Regions from separate parts of the Homo sapiens genome. Here all the other regions are linked to region 2. Evidence: promoter capture Hi-C in human tissues and cell types (Jung and others, 2019). All regions are on one chromosome and are shown on one strand. Each heading gives the region's core, a stretch centred on a gene start or on the middle of the fragment in contact. The rest is flanking DNA. Distances are from core to core; before and after follow the strand shown.

Region 1 (3,761 bases), core at 1,248-3,747, 310 kb before region 2:
TTTCACCATGTTGGCCAAGCTGGTCTCAAACCCCTGACCTCAAGTGATCTGCCTGCCTCGGCCTCCCAAAGTGCTGGGATTACAGGCATGCGCCACTGCACCTGGCCCAAACATTTTTTTTTTTTTTGAGATGGAGTCTCACTCTGTTGCCCAGACTGGAGTGCAGTGGCACAATCTCCACTCACTGCAGCCTCCGCTTCCTGGATTCAAGTGATTCTCCTGCCTCAGTCTCCCGAGTAGCTGGGACTACAGGCGTGTACCACTGCACCCAGCTAATTTTTGTATATTTTTTTTTTTTAGAGATGGGGTTTTACCACGTTGGCCAGGCTGGTCTCGAACTCCTGACCTCATGATCCACCCGCCTTGGCCTCCCAAAGTGCTGGGAGTACAGGCGTGAGCCACTGTGTCCGGCCCCCAACATTTTTAATTATATTAATTTATACCAAGAAAAATGCATAAAATTAACTGTACTTGTTTTTTGCAGAATAAAAAGAGCCCACATTTTGAAATCTCAAAGACCTGCATTCAAAGCCCATTTTAGAAATGAGGCCAGGCGCAGTGGCTCACACCTGTAATCCCAGAACTTTGGGAGGCTGAGGAGGGCGGATCACCTGAGGTCAGGAGTTCAAGATCAGCCTGACCAATGTGGTAAAACCCCGTCTCTACTAAAAATACAAAAATTAGCCGCATGGTAGCGCATGCCTGTAATCTCAGCTACTTGCAAGGCTGAGGCAGGAGAATCGCTTGAACCTGGGAGGTGGAGGTTGCAGTGAGCCGAGATTGTGCCATTCCACTCCAGCCTGGGCAACAAGAGTAAAACTCCATCTCAAAAGAAAAAAAAGAAATGTATGTTTTTGTATGAGTAATTTAATATCTCTGAGCTTTAGTTTCCTTGTCTGTAAGAAAGGCTTTTTCTGAGTTGTAAAGTTAGTGTATAAAAATACCAAGGACTGGGCATGGTGGCTCATGCCTATAATCCCAGCCGTTTTGGAGGCTGAGGTGGGAGGATAGCTTGAGCCCAGGCATTTGAGACCAGCCTGGGCAACATGGCAATACCCCACTTCTACCAAAAAAAAAAAAAAAAAAAATTAGTTAGCCAGATACGGTGGTGTACCTGTAGTCCCAGCTGCTCAGGAAGCTGAGGCAGAAAGATCACATGAGCCCAGGAGTTCAAGGCTACAGTGAGCTATGTTCAAGCCCCTGCACTCCAGCCTGGGCAGCAGAGTGAGTCCTTGTCTCAAAAATGAATCAATAAAGTTTTTAAAAATAAAAATGCTAAGTAGTGTCACATGGCAAGTGTCCATATCATTACTGCCCTCATCCTCAGCAGCTGCCTTCTTCTAACTCAAAGGCGGGCCAATCTTTTGGCTTACCTGGGCCACACTGGAAGATGAAGAATTGTCTTGGACCACATGTGAAATACACTAACACTAATGGTAGCTGATGAGCAAAAAAAAAAAAAAAAAAAAAAAATCACAAAAAGAACTCATAATGTTTTAAGAAAGTTTACGATTTTGCATTGGGCTGCATTAAAGCCATCCTGGGCTGCATTTGGCCCGCAGGCCATGGGCCAAGCTTGTTCTCATTCGTGATTCTCTCAGCTTTAGATTTGTGTGGACAAAATCACACAGCTGTTTTTGGTTATCTGGATTATAACTAAGGTATAAAAAAAGATTGAAAGACACCTATCCTCAATATTACTAAGATTTGAGACATCTTTTTATTAATAGAAATGAACTATGTTGAATTTTTCATGTCCTCATACCTGCTCTCCCTTGTGTCCAAAGACACTTAATGGTCATGGTGCCAGAACTTCTGTAATTCAGAGCCAAATAGTCCATGTTGGTCAAAGATACAGGCTTTGAGGCCAAACTGCCTGATTTAAATCTCAGCTCTGGCTTGATGCATTTGTTACTTTAGGCAAGGTACTTAACCTCTCTGTGACTCAGTTTCCATCTTGTCAAAATGTAGGAAGTGACTTCACAGGGCTGATGTGAAGAATAAAGATGCAGTTTATTACCTTATTACCTTACAATTACCTTATTACCTTACAAGTTCGAGACCATCCTGGGCAACATGGCAAAACCCTGTCTCTACAAAAAAATTAAAAAATTAGTCAGGCATGGTGGCACGCACCTATAGTCCAAACTACTTGGGGGACTGAGGCAGGAGGATCACTTGAGCCCAGAGGTCAAGGCTGCAGTGAGCCAAGATCACGCTACTGCACTGCAGTCCGAGTGACAGAGTGAGACCCCATGTCTTAAAAAACAAAGAAAAAGAAAAATTACCACTGGAAAATGTTCCAGCCCCCTCTTCAGTGTTTGCTTGGAAGATGCTGTATTAATCTGTTCTCATACTGCTATGAAGAAATATCTGAGACTGAGTAATTTATAAAGAAAAGAGTTTTAATGGACTCACAGTTCTCCATTGCTGGGGAGGCCTCAGGAAGCTTACAATCATGGCAAAGATGAAGGAGAAGCAAAGATACGTCTTACTTGGTGGCAGGTGGGAGAGCCTGTGTTCGAGTGCAGGGGAAACTGCCCTTTATAAACCATCAAATCTCATGAGACTCACTCACTATCACAAGAACAGCATGGGGAAAACCACCCCGGTGATTCAATCATCTCCATCTGGTCTCTCCCTTGACGTGTGGAGATTACGGGGATTACAGTTCCAGGTGAGATTTGGGTGGGAACACAGAGCCAAACCATATCAGATGCCATGGTGACTGGGAGTGTTTTCAGTGACTTTAAGGGCCTGACCAATGCTTCTTTGAGTAAGACTGCTTTGAAGGTGCTCACCAGGAAGCCCACAGCTTTGTGCCTAATGCAAGGGCAAAGCCATACAGCCCAACCAGACATGGTGGTATGCACCTGTAGTTCCAGTTACTCAGGAGGCTGAGGCCATAGGATCAATTGAACCCAAGAGTTGGAGAACAGCTAGGCAACCTAGCAAGATCCCACCCTCCCCCCAAACAACAAAAAACAAAAACAAGCATACAGCTTGACATGGGCACTACTTGCTTTTAAATTGAGCTTATCTTTTTTTTTTTCTTTTTGACACAGGATCTTGCTCTGTTGCCCAGGCTGGAGTGCAGTGGGACAATCACAACTCACAGTAGCCTCACACTCCTGGGTGCAAGGGATCCTCCCACCTCAGCCTCTCAAGTAGCTGAGTGAGCGCTCACACTGCTCCTGCCTGCAGACCCTCTCCAATGCCCCTTTCACCATCTCTTTCTCAGCCTACCTGCCCAAGACTCACCGTCAGCCACCCAGCCTCCTTCCTCCTGGCAGCAGCTATCCTTTCTCTCTCATGAGTTAACTCTTCCCTCTTTCCAAAAAGATCCATCCAGCTCTAGAGTTTCTGCCCATCTCTCCCATTCTGGTCTGCAGGTCTCATTCCTGAGAAGGACAGAGGCATTTAGAATAGTAACTCAAACATTTCAGCCAAAATACTCCCCAAAGCTCCTTATTGAGCAAGAAAGAGATTACTAATAATTTCCCCATCCCCTAATTCCTATATAAAGATGAATACTGGCCGGGCGTGGTGGTTCACGCCTGTAATCCCAGCACTTTGGGAGACCAAGGTGGGTGGATCACAAGGTCAGGAGTTTGAGACCAGGCTGGCCAATATGGTGAAACCCCATCTCTACTAAAAATACAAAAAAACTAGCCAAGTGTGGTGACATGCGCCTGTAGTCCCAGCTACTCCATTGCTGAGGCAATGGAGGCTGAGGCAGGAGAATCACTTGAACCCAGGAG
Region 2 (4,344 bases), core at 1,297-3,796:
TACTGTGGTCTCAGAGCTGTGTAATTTGGATGACTGAGACGGAAAAACCTCTGGAAAACCTTTATTTATGTTGAATAAGTATTCCTTGAATCCTTCCTCAGCATCCTGGGTTATATTTGATTTGCTCTGTTCATGATAACTTCATGCCAAGGAGACTGCTATCAGCTCTCTTAAAACAGATCCCAACTCCCTGCTCATAGTGGCCAAAGGAATGGAGATTTCAGGCTGAGTTTACTTACCTGCATCATCATCTATCCAGAAGCATCCCTGCACAAACCTCTGTTTCTACCCTTCCATTCACTCGGCTCACTTTTCTGCTCTTAGTACCCTTTGTTTCTTGTGAACTCTCCAGCAGGAGTGACTTGCAATTTGTATCCACTGACACTTAAGTTCTCAGAAGTGCTGGAGAAGCGTATGGAAGTAAATTATCCTGATGTATAATTTTGTACATGTGAAACTCACCGTGGAAGTGCCTATTCTAATTTCAGTACGGAACACAGCTAAATATTTGGATCAATAATCCAGTTTTGAAAGCACACTTTATTTAAAGTACAATGTGCTGAAGAAAATGAAAAAAGAAAGGGTGCTTTCAAATTTGTACTGAGTAAACTTTCACTAGATCACATCATATGTTTATCACTAGTCACATATATGTTGTATTTCTATGTGTAATCGTCAGGCACTTTTAATTTCTAGTTTGCATTTACCATGCCAGCCTCCTCCTCAATCCCAAATTTCCTTTGGTTATAAATTTAGTAAATTTGAAAGAGCCAGCAGGGATTAAACCCTGAAGGTATTCAAATGACTATCTGACGTTATTCCTCATTTCAGCCATTTCAAAAAATTATGCTTTCATTTAGAATAGGCTCTGGGAATCAAAGTGTGTGTATTTTGCCCAAGTAGAAGACACAGTTTAAAGTTAACATCCTAGCTACTAGAAGGGAAAGCAAACATCGCTGGAAAAGGAGCCTATTTTTTTTTACCTTACACTAAAACTACACTGCGAAGATCAAAAGAAATCAACATGAGAGTGTGCCTCTTAACGCTAGGCCCAAAGTAGATGCTTATTAAATGATAGTTTACCCCAATCCTTCACAAATGGTTGATAGGTCTTACTATTTCCCCCCATTCAAATCTAGAATTTTTTCACTCTCATAAACTAATCGATAGTGAATGGAAAGCACAGAATAGATCATCGTCCAAGTGTTAGGTATTAGCCTGAGAAATCCAGAATCCCATATTTGTAACTGTCCTTCTTGAGAAAGTGCATTTTTCAGGCGGATTCTAGCCCCATTTTTCTTTTTACCATTTTTACATATTATGAGAGGTGGCTTAGAAGTACTTCGATTTTTGCCTCTTCATCACAACACACTGAACGTTAAAATCAAGTGGTTGGGTTTTTATTGGCTTATTTTGTCTCTAACCGTTTTATTTCTCGAGCTGTCATCGTTCTTTTCGTCTTACATCCTTATGAACCTTTTCTGGATTAAAAAAAATGACGTTATAATAAGGAAACTAACTGGCGTTGGATTCGAACGAAGTTGACTCCATTCCTTTTCCTCCCCGTAGTGTGGGCGCTACGAGGAAAGACCTCGGCGAGAACCAGCGAAGCCCGGGCTGCCCTCGCCGTGCGGGCGCACATTTGCTCCTCGCGCCGGGCTGCGCCGGGCGACCGCGGCCGCCTCGGCGTGTGTCCGCGGCTCCCTCCCGCCCTCGCCCGCAGTTCCCCGATCCCGATCCCGGATCTCTGGGTCCACAGCTTGGCTACCTCCCGAGCCGGAGCCGGAGCCGGAGCCGGAGTCGCGGCTGGGCCCGGCCGCCGCGTCACAGGGGGAGGGAACCCGGGGGGGAGGGGGAGGGGCGGTGAGGTCAGCGGCGGCGGCGCGTCCGCGGGCGGCGGGAGCGGCGCATGCGCGGAGCGAGGCCCGTGAGTGGCAGCGGCGGCGCGCGGGGGGCGGGCGAGGGGCCGAGTGTGGGGGAGCGGGCGGGGGCCGTCGAGGCGGCGGTGTGTGGGCGCGACGGCTGCGAGTTGGAGAGGTCTGTGGTGCGGGTCGCCCCGGGGGATCCCCGGCGCGGGCCTCGCGCGACGGCCACGGTCGCGCGGCGTGTGTGTGGGGTCCAAGCACACCCGCAAAACTTCCTCCTCCCCTGCTCCGGGAGAGCGAGCGAGCGTGTGTGAGAGAGCGAGTGTGAGGAGCGAGCCGCGGCCCGGCGCCCAGCGCCGCCACTGGAGCAGCTGTCAAAACTTCGCCGCCGCCGCCGCCCGGGCCTGACGGGCCTGACGCGCGGGGGAGGGGCGGCCGGCCGGGGGCGCGACCCCCTCGCCGCCCCCGCCGGGCCCCGCGGCCGGCCCTCCCCGCGCCGGGCCCCTTTCTCCTCCTGCCGCGGGCGGCTCGGGGGAGGGGCCGCGGGCGGAGACCCCGGGGGCCGGCGCCCCTCACGCCGCCCGCCCGCCCGGCTGCCCCGCCCGCCCGCACCCGCCGGCCCCGCCCGCCCCGCACCGCCCGCCCCGCCCGCCGCCCCCCGCCCGGCCCCTGCGCGCGGAGGTGCGCGCGCCCGCGCCGATGTGTGTGAGTGCGTGTCCTGCTCGCTCCATGTTGCCGCCTCTCCCGGTACCTGCTGCTGCTCCCGGGGCTGCGGGAAATGCGAGAGGCTGAGCCGGGGAGGAGGAACCCGAGCAGCAGCGGCGGCGGCGGCGGCCGCGGCGGCGGGAGCCCCCCAGGAGGAGGACCGGGATCCATGTGTCTTTCCTGGTGACTAGGATGTCGTCGGAGGAGGACAAGAGCGTGGAGCAGCCGCAGCCGCCGCCACCACCCCCCGAGGAGCCTGGAGCCCCGGCCCCGAGCCCCGCAGCCGCAGACAAAAGACCTCGGGGCCGGCCTCGCAAAGATGGCGCTTCCCCTTTCCAGAGAGCCAGAAAGAAGTAAGTTGAGTGCGAGGGAGCCAGGCCGGGAGCCAGCGGCGGCGCCGGGCCGGAGCTGTCACCGGGCGCCCGCCCCGCGGCCTCCGCGCCCCGGCGCCCCCCGGCGGGGTGGGGGCGGGGCGGGCCCGCGGGCGGTGGCGGCTCCCGGCCCCGGCCCCGCGCCCCTCGGTAGCCGCCCGCGCCCGGCCTCCCCCGCTCCGCGCCGCCCGCCCGGGCTCCCGCCGGCGCCCGGCTCCGCACACTTTACTTTTCAGTCGGGCCTTTTCACTGGGTCTTCTCCGCGACTCTTCTTTTGGAGAAATTTCTCGTAGCCGCGTCTTGGCCTAGCTGGATCATTGAGAAAACAAGCCCGGAGCGCGCCCAGGTAGTCCCCGGACGGACTCCGGGCGAACCGCCGAGCCGTCGGCGCTCGGGAAACTCTCGGAGCTGTCAAAACGCCCGGGCCAGGTGGTCTCGGGGCGCGGGCTGGGGGCGAGAAGAAAGCGGCCGGGCGAGTGCAGCTTTTGTTTGTCAGCGACTTGCTCCTGGAACTTTTCCTGGTCCCAAACCTGTGTTTTCTTCTTTTGATGATATATTAGGAAGCCATTTGACTTCTTCCTCCCCCCTCCCCCAACACCCAGCACCGCACTCCCGGGCTCCGAAAGCACAAGTCCTGTGGGATCCCCCAGCTTCGGGGAACGGCCTGCCTAAGTTTTGGAGACGTAGCCAGCGTCCCCTCGTAAGGCAGAATACCAAGAGCACTTATTCGGAGAGAGTGCAGATGTAAATGTCGCTTCCCTCGTAAGTCTTAGCTGTAAGGGGCTTGGGAATAGGGTCGCCTGCCTTTGAGCGTACAGTAGGGCTGGACCCCAGCTTATTAGAGGACCAGAAATGTCTTCTTACAGAACGGTTATTTGACGGCTTTGCTTGTAAATTAAGACACCGTTTTAGTGCCAGCGAACTGCTCGGCTTCTGTGGCTCTCGCGTGTGCCGTGGAAGAACTGTGAATGTCTCTCGAAGTTGTAGAATGGCGTGTGTGCTTACTCATTTCGTGAGATGATATTCTCATTGAACTGTCGGGAGTGGAAGGGTGCGCTGGGACGTGAAGGAAGCCAGCACGTTTATGGATAGGCTGTTTCTTTGGTTCGGGTGCATTCACTTAGTAATAGTATTGTTGTTTGGTGATTTGTAGTAAAAATAGTAGCGTGAACTGAGGCATAGCAGAGCTGGGTTGTGGGAACCCATTGAGCTCTTGACTTGAATGTGCTCTTTTCTTGCCCCGCTGTCCTTTTACTATGAAAATGATTCAGGGCCTTCAACTTGCCTCCATATTTTATTGCCAGCTGTTACCTAGCTATGATAATCGTGAGGGAAGCAAGTACAGGATGTGTGTACATTATTACATTAGCTTGTTCGTGATACAAAGTTAGGACTTATTTATT
Region 3 (3,909 bases), core at 1,371-3,870, 330 kb before region 2:
GAGGCAGGAGAATCACTTGAACCCGGGAGGCGGAGGTTGTGGTGAGCCAAGATCGCGCCATTCTACTCCAGCCTGAACAATGAAAGCAAAACTCTGTCTCCGGAAAAAAAAAAAAAAAAAAAAAAGGGCCAGGGTAAGACCCAGTCTCAAAACAAAAATAAAAATAAATAAGTAAAATAAAGAACAATGTACAATCAAGGTCCTCGGCCACACTGTAGAACTTTGGAGGATGCTCACTCCAACTAACTGCTGTCACCTTCACCATTCTATTCTTTTCTTTATAAATTACCCGGTGTGTGGTATTCTGTTACAGCAACACAAAACAAAGACATTAAGATATCATTTATTCTAGGTTGGTAATTTTACAAATTGGCAATAGGCTCTATTGGTGAGTCTGTAAGACACAGGCATCCTCACACATTACTGGTGAGAATGCACACTAATGAGTGTAATTTGACACTGCCTAGCAAAATTACATATGCATTTGCCCTTTGACCCAGAAATCCCATTTCTAAAAATCTAAGCCACAGATACTCAGGCAAAAAATACAAAAAGATATCCTTGCTTTATTTTTTCTTTTTTTTTTTTTTTGAGATGGAGTCTCGCTGTTGCCAGGCTGGAGTGCAGTGGCGCGATCTCAGCTCACTGCAACCTCCGCCTCCTGGTTCAAGCGATCCTCCTGCCTCAGCCTCCTGAGTAGCTAGGACTACTAAAATTAGCCCACCAGTGTGCCCGGCTAATTTTTTTGTATTTCTTTTTTTTTTTAGTAGAGACGGGGTTTCACCGTGTTAGCCAGGATGGTCTCGATCTCCTGACCACGGGTCGTGATCCACATCCTCGGCCTCCCAAAGTGCTGGGACTACAGGTGTGAGCCACTGCGCCTGGCCAGAATGCTCAAAAAATGAAGACATGTCTAAAGAACATGGAAGGCCAGGTGCAGTGCCTCACTCCTGTAATCCCAACACCTTGGGAGGCAGAGGTGGGCAGATCACCTGAGGTTAGGAGTTCAAGACCAGCCTGGCCAACATGACAAAACCCCATCTCTACTAAAAATACAAAAAAACAGCCATGCGTGGTGGTGTACACCTATAATCCCAGCTACTCAGGAGGCTGGGGCAGGAGAATCGCTTGAACCCGGGAGGCAGAGGTTGTAGTGAGCTGAAGTCACACCACTGCACTTCAGCCTGGGCAACACAGCAAGACTCCGTCTCAAAAAATAAATAAATAAAAAATAAAGAACATGGGAGTCAGCCTGAATGAGCTTCACTTGGCAAAATCTGGGACAATTTAAGCAATAGATAACCCACTGACAACAATGAGGACGGCATAATGGATTATCATTCTTTGAACAGAACGACAACTCATACAGACAATAAACAAATGAGGCCTATGGATAAGTTCTTCCTTAAAATAAAATGTTAACTAATAAATGGAGACAGAATAATAGAGTTCAAAAATCACCATTTTGCAACCATCACCATAATTAGTAATTCAGGCAAGAATCACCAATGGGCCAGGCACAGTGGCTCACGCCTGTAATCACAGCACTTTGGGAGGCCAAGGCGGGTGGATTGCTTGAGATCAGGATTCAAGACCAGCTTGGGCAACATGATGAAATCCCGTCTCTACCAAAAATACAAAAAGTTAGCCGGGCATGGTGGCTCATGCCTGTAATCCCAGCTACCCATGAGGCTGAAGCAGGAGAATTCCCTGAACCTGGGAGACAGAGGTTGCAGTGAGCAGAGATTGTGCCACTGCACTCCAGCCTAGGAAACAGAACAAGATTCTGTCAAAAAAAAAGAAAAAAACAAGAGTCACCAATGGATACTTAAACTAATGGATGAAAGTTTAAGAATAGAGTACTTACATAAAATATTCCCCCACAAATGACTTTTTTTTTTTTTTTTTTTTTTTTTTTTTTGAGATGGAGTCTCGCTCTGTCACCAGGCTGGAGTGCAGTGGCCCGATCTCGGCTCACTGCAACTTCCGCCTCTCGGATTCAAGTGATTCTCCTGAGCAGCCTCCAAAGCAGCTGGGACTACAGGCACGCACCACCACACCCAGCTAATTTTTGTATTTTTAGTAGAGACGGGGTTTCACCATGTTGGCCAGGTTGGTCTCGAACTCCTGCCCTCAGGTGATCCGCCCGCCTCGGCCTCCCAAAGTGCTGGGATTACAGGCATGAGCCACCGCGCCCAGCCAAATGACTTATTAATTACAAAGAAAAATAGTAACTGAACAGTGAAGAAACCTCGTGGACATCACCCTCTCCAAATGATCCAAGTGAACTTCATCAAGACTGAGGCGAGTCCCTATCTTAAGCCTTTCGATGGGATGCACTAAGAAGGATCAACAGGACTTCTGTGGTAGTCCTGACAAATATGCATATCCTGTATCTATCACAGAGAAACACTAGGTAACAACTGGCTGTCAAAAATGCCAACATCTTGAAAGACAAAAAAAGGTTAAGAAATTATTCCAGATTAAATTAGACTTAAAAGACATGACACCCACCAGATGCAATGTATGCCGCTGATGGGGAGGTCTTTCATGGGTGACATTCCATAAAAGACATGAATCCATACTGTATATAGGATACTACTGTATGTATGTTAAATTTTCTGATTTTGATGATTGGAATGTGATTCTAGAAGGGAAAATGTGTCCTCAGAAAGTACGCATTCAAGTATTTTGATATAAAAGGGTATGATCTCTGCAACTTACTCTCAAACAGTGCAGGAAAGTAATAATAATATGTATGGACATACAGAGAGTGACAAAGCAAATGTTAACAGTTGGTAAAACTGGAAGAAGAGTATACAGTAGTTTTTTGTTCTCTTCCAGCTTTCAGTAGATTTGAAATTATTTCAAAAAAAGTTGAAAAATGCAAAAGACTTCATTTGAAAAGTTTGGCTCAGAGAAGTGAGACCGGAGTTGTGAAATATTCTCTGAAAACTATGCAGCCTAGTCATCCCTTTAAATAGATGAAGCTTTATTTTTGGACTCAGCAGATCCCTTTGTCCATATTATCCTGGCCTCCAGCACATCACTGCTTACTCAGGTAGTCTCGGGGTTTACCTGAGGAGGATTCAAGGATACTGGGATGAAATTTATTTGTAAAAAATACTGTTTATCACACTGTCCAATAAATCATTAGTGCCCACTATGTATAGCTCAATGCTTTTACAATTTAGTACTACAAAAAAAGGCTTTTTTCACCCAAGAAACAGGTATTTCTCTTGATTTCTGATGACAGGAATTACATAACCATGACTCTTATGATGTTGTCAGACAGGAAGACTAAGGTCGAATGTGCGGACCAACTTCAGCAGCCACTGGGCTAAAGCTCAGGGTGACTTCCTAGGTCCGTTCTTTTCCTTTGGCTTGGTTATTTTTATCTGAATTTTACCACTTTTTGTCCTATTTTGAGGCAAAACTAAATCCAAAAATCATTTTGGCTCTCTGGGAAATGTAAGAACTACTGATGTGCTCAAGTTGGTAAATTCGGGCTCTTTCAGGCTCCTTCTGGCCATACACTCGATATGGGGAATTCATATGGAGATTCCCTGCCACCGTTTCTAAGTCTTGACACCAACTTCTGAAGCATGACTTTGGGCCACAAAACAATGATCTATAGAAGTTGAATCTCCAAGTTAGCCAAGTTACATTAATCACTTACCTCAAAAGGTCAAAACTGAGCACGACATTTTAGGTATTTATAGCAAGAAAGATGAGTAAGGTCCACGACTTACTAATCTTAAAGGTATGACAACTCTGTGAGCATTATTTTATTGCTACTACCAAGAATTCCTTTATATTTTAATAGTTCTGCAAGACTAAAACTACAAAGCAAAAATCTCACATGCAAATGTGGAAATGAAAAATACTTTCACCCACTGGTTTCACTCT

What was found. Contacts are between HindIII fragments. The study calls those that stand out against the background at their distance.
Region 1: a contact is called between a fragment that was not itself captured here and the fragment with the promoter of KMT2C in region 2, in 1 of the 25 tissues and cell types used here (dorsolateral prefrontal cortex).
Region 3: a fragment that was not itself captured here is called in contact with the fragment with the promoter of KMT2C in region 2 in 2 of the 25 tissues and cell types used here (hippocampus and ovary).

The regions. Positions count from the first base shown.
Region 1 is chr7:152,744,907-152,748,667 of GRCh38, reverse strand. No RefSeq gene overlaps it. Among named protein-coding and RNA genes, the nearest start is that of ACTR3B, 13 kb to the left of the region's middle. The HindIII fragment of the contact is 4,449 bases long and covers 273-3,761 here.
Region 2 is chr7:152,434,205-152,438,548 of GRCh38, reverse strand. KMT2C (lysine methyltransferase 2C) reads left to right here and starts at 2,546. Exons shown (of 59, transcript NM_170606.3): 1 at 2,546-2,923. The coding sequence starts at 2,763. It also overlaps the pseudogene FABP5P3. RefSeq lists silencers at 1,530-1,869, 1,910-2,199, 2,290-2,339, 2,720-2,779 and enhancers at 3,260-3,489, 3,530-3,579, 4,050-4,119. The HindIII fragment of the contact is 14,314 bases long and covers 1-4,344 here.
Region 3 is chr7:152,761,326-152,765,234 of GRCh38, reverse strand. All of the region lies in intron 1 of ACTR3B (actin related protein 3B), which reads right to left. Among named protein-coding and RNA genes, the nearest start is that of ACTR3B, 3.5 kb to the right of the region's middle. The HindIII fragment of the contact is 3,230 bases long and covers 1,006-3,909 here.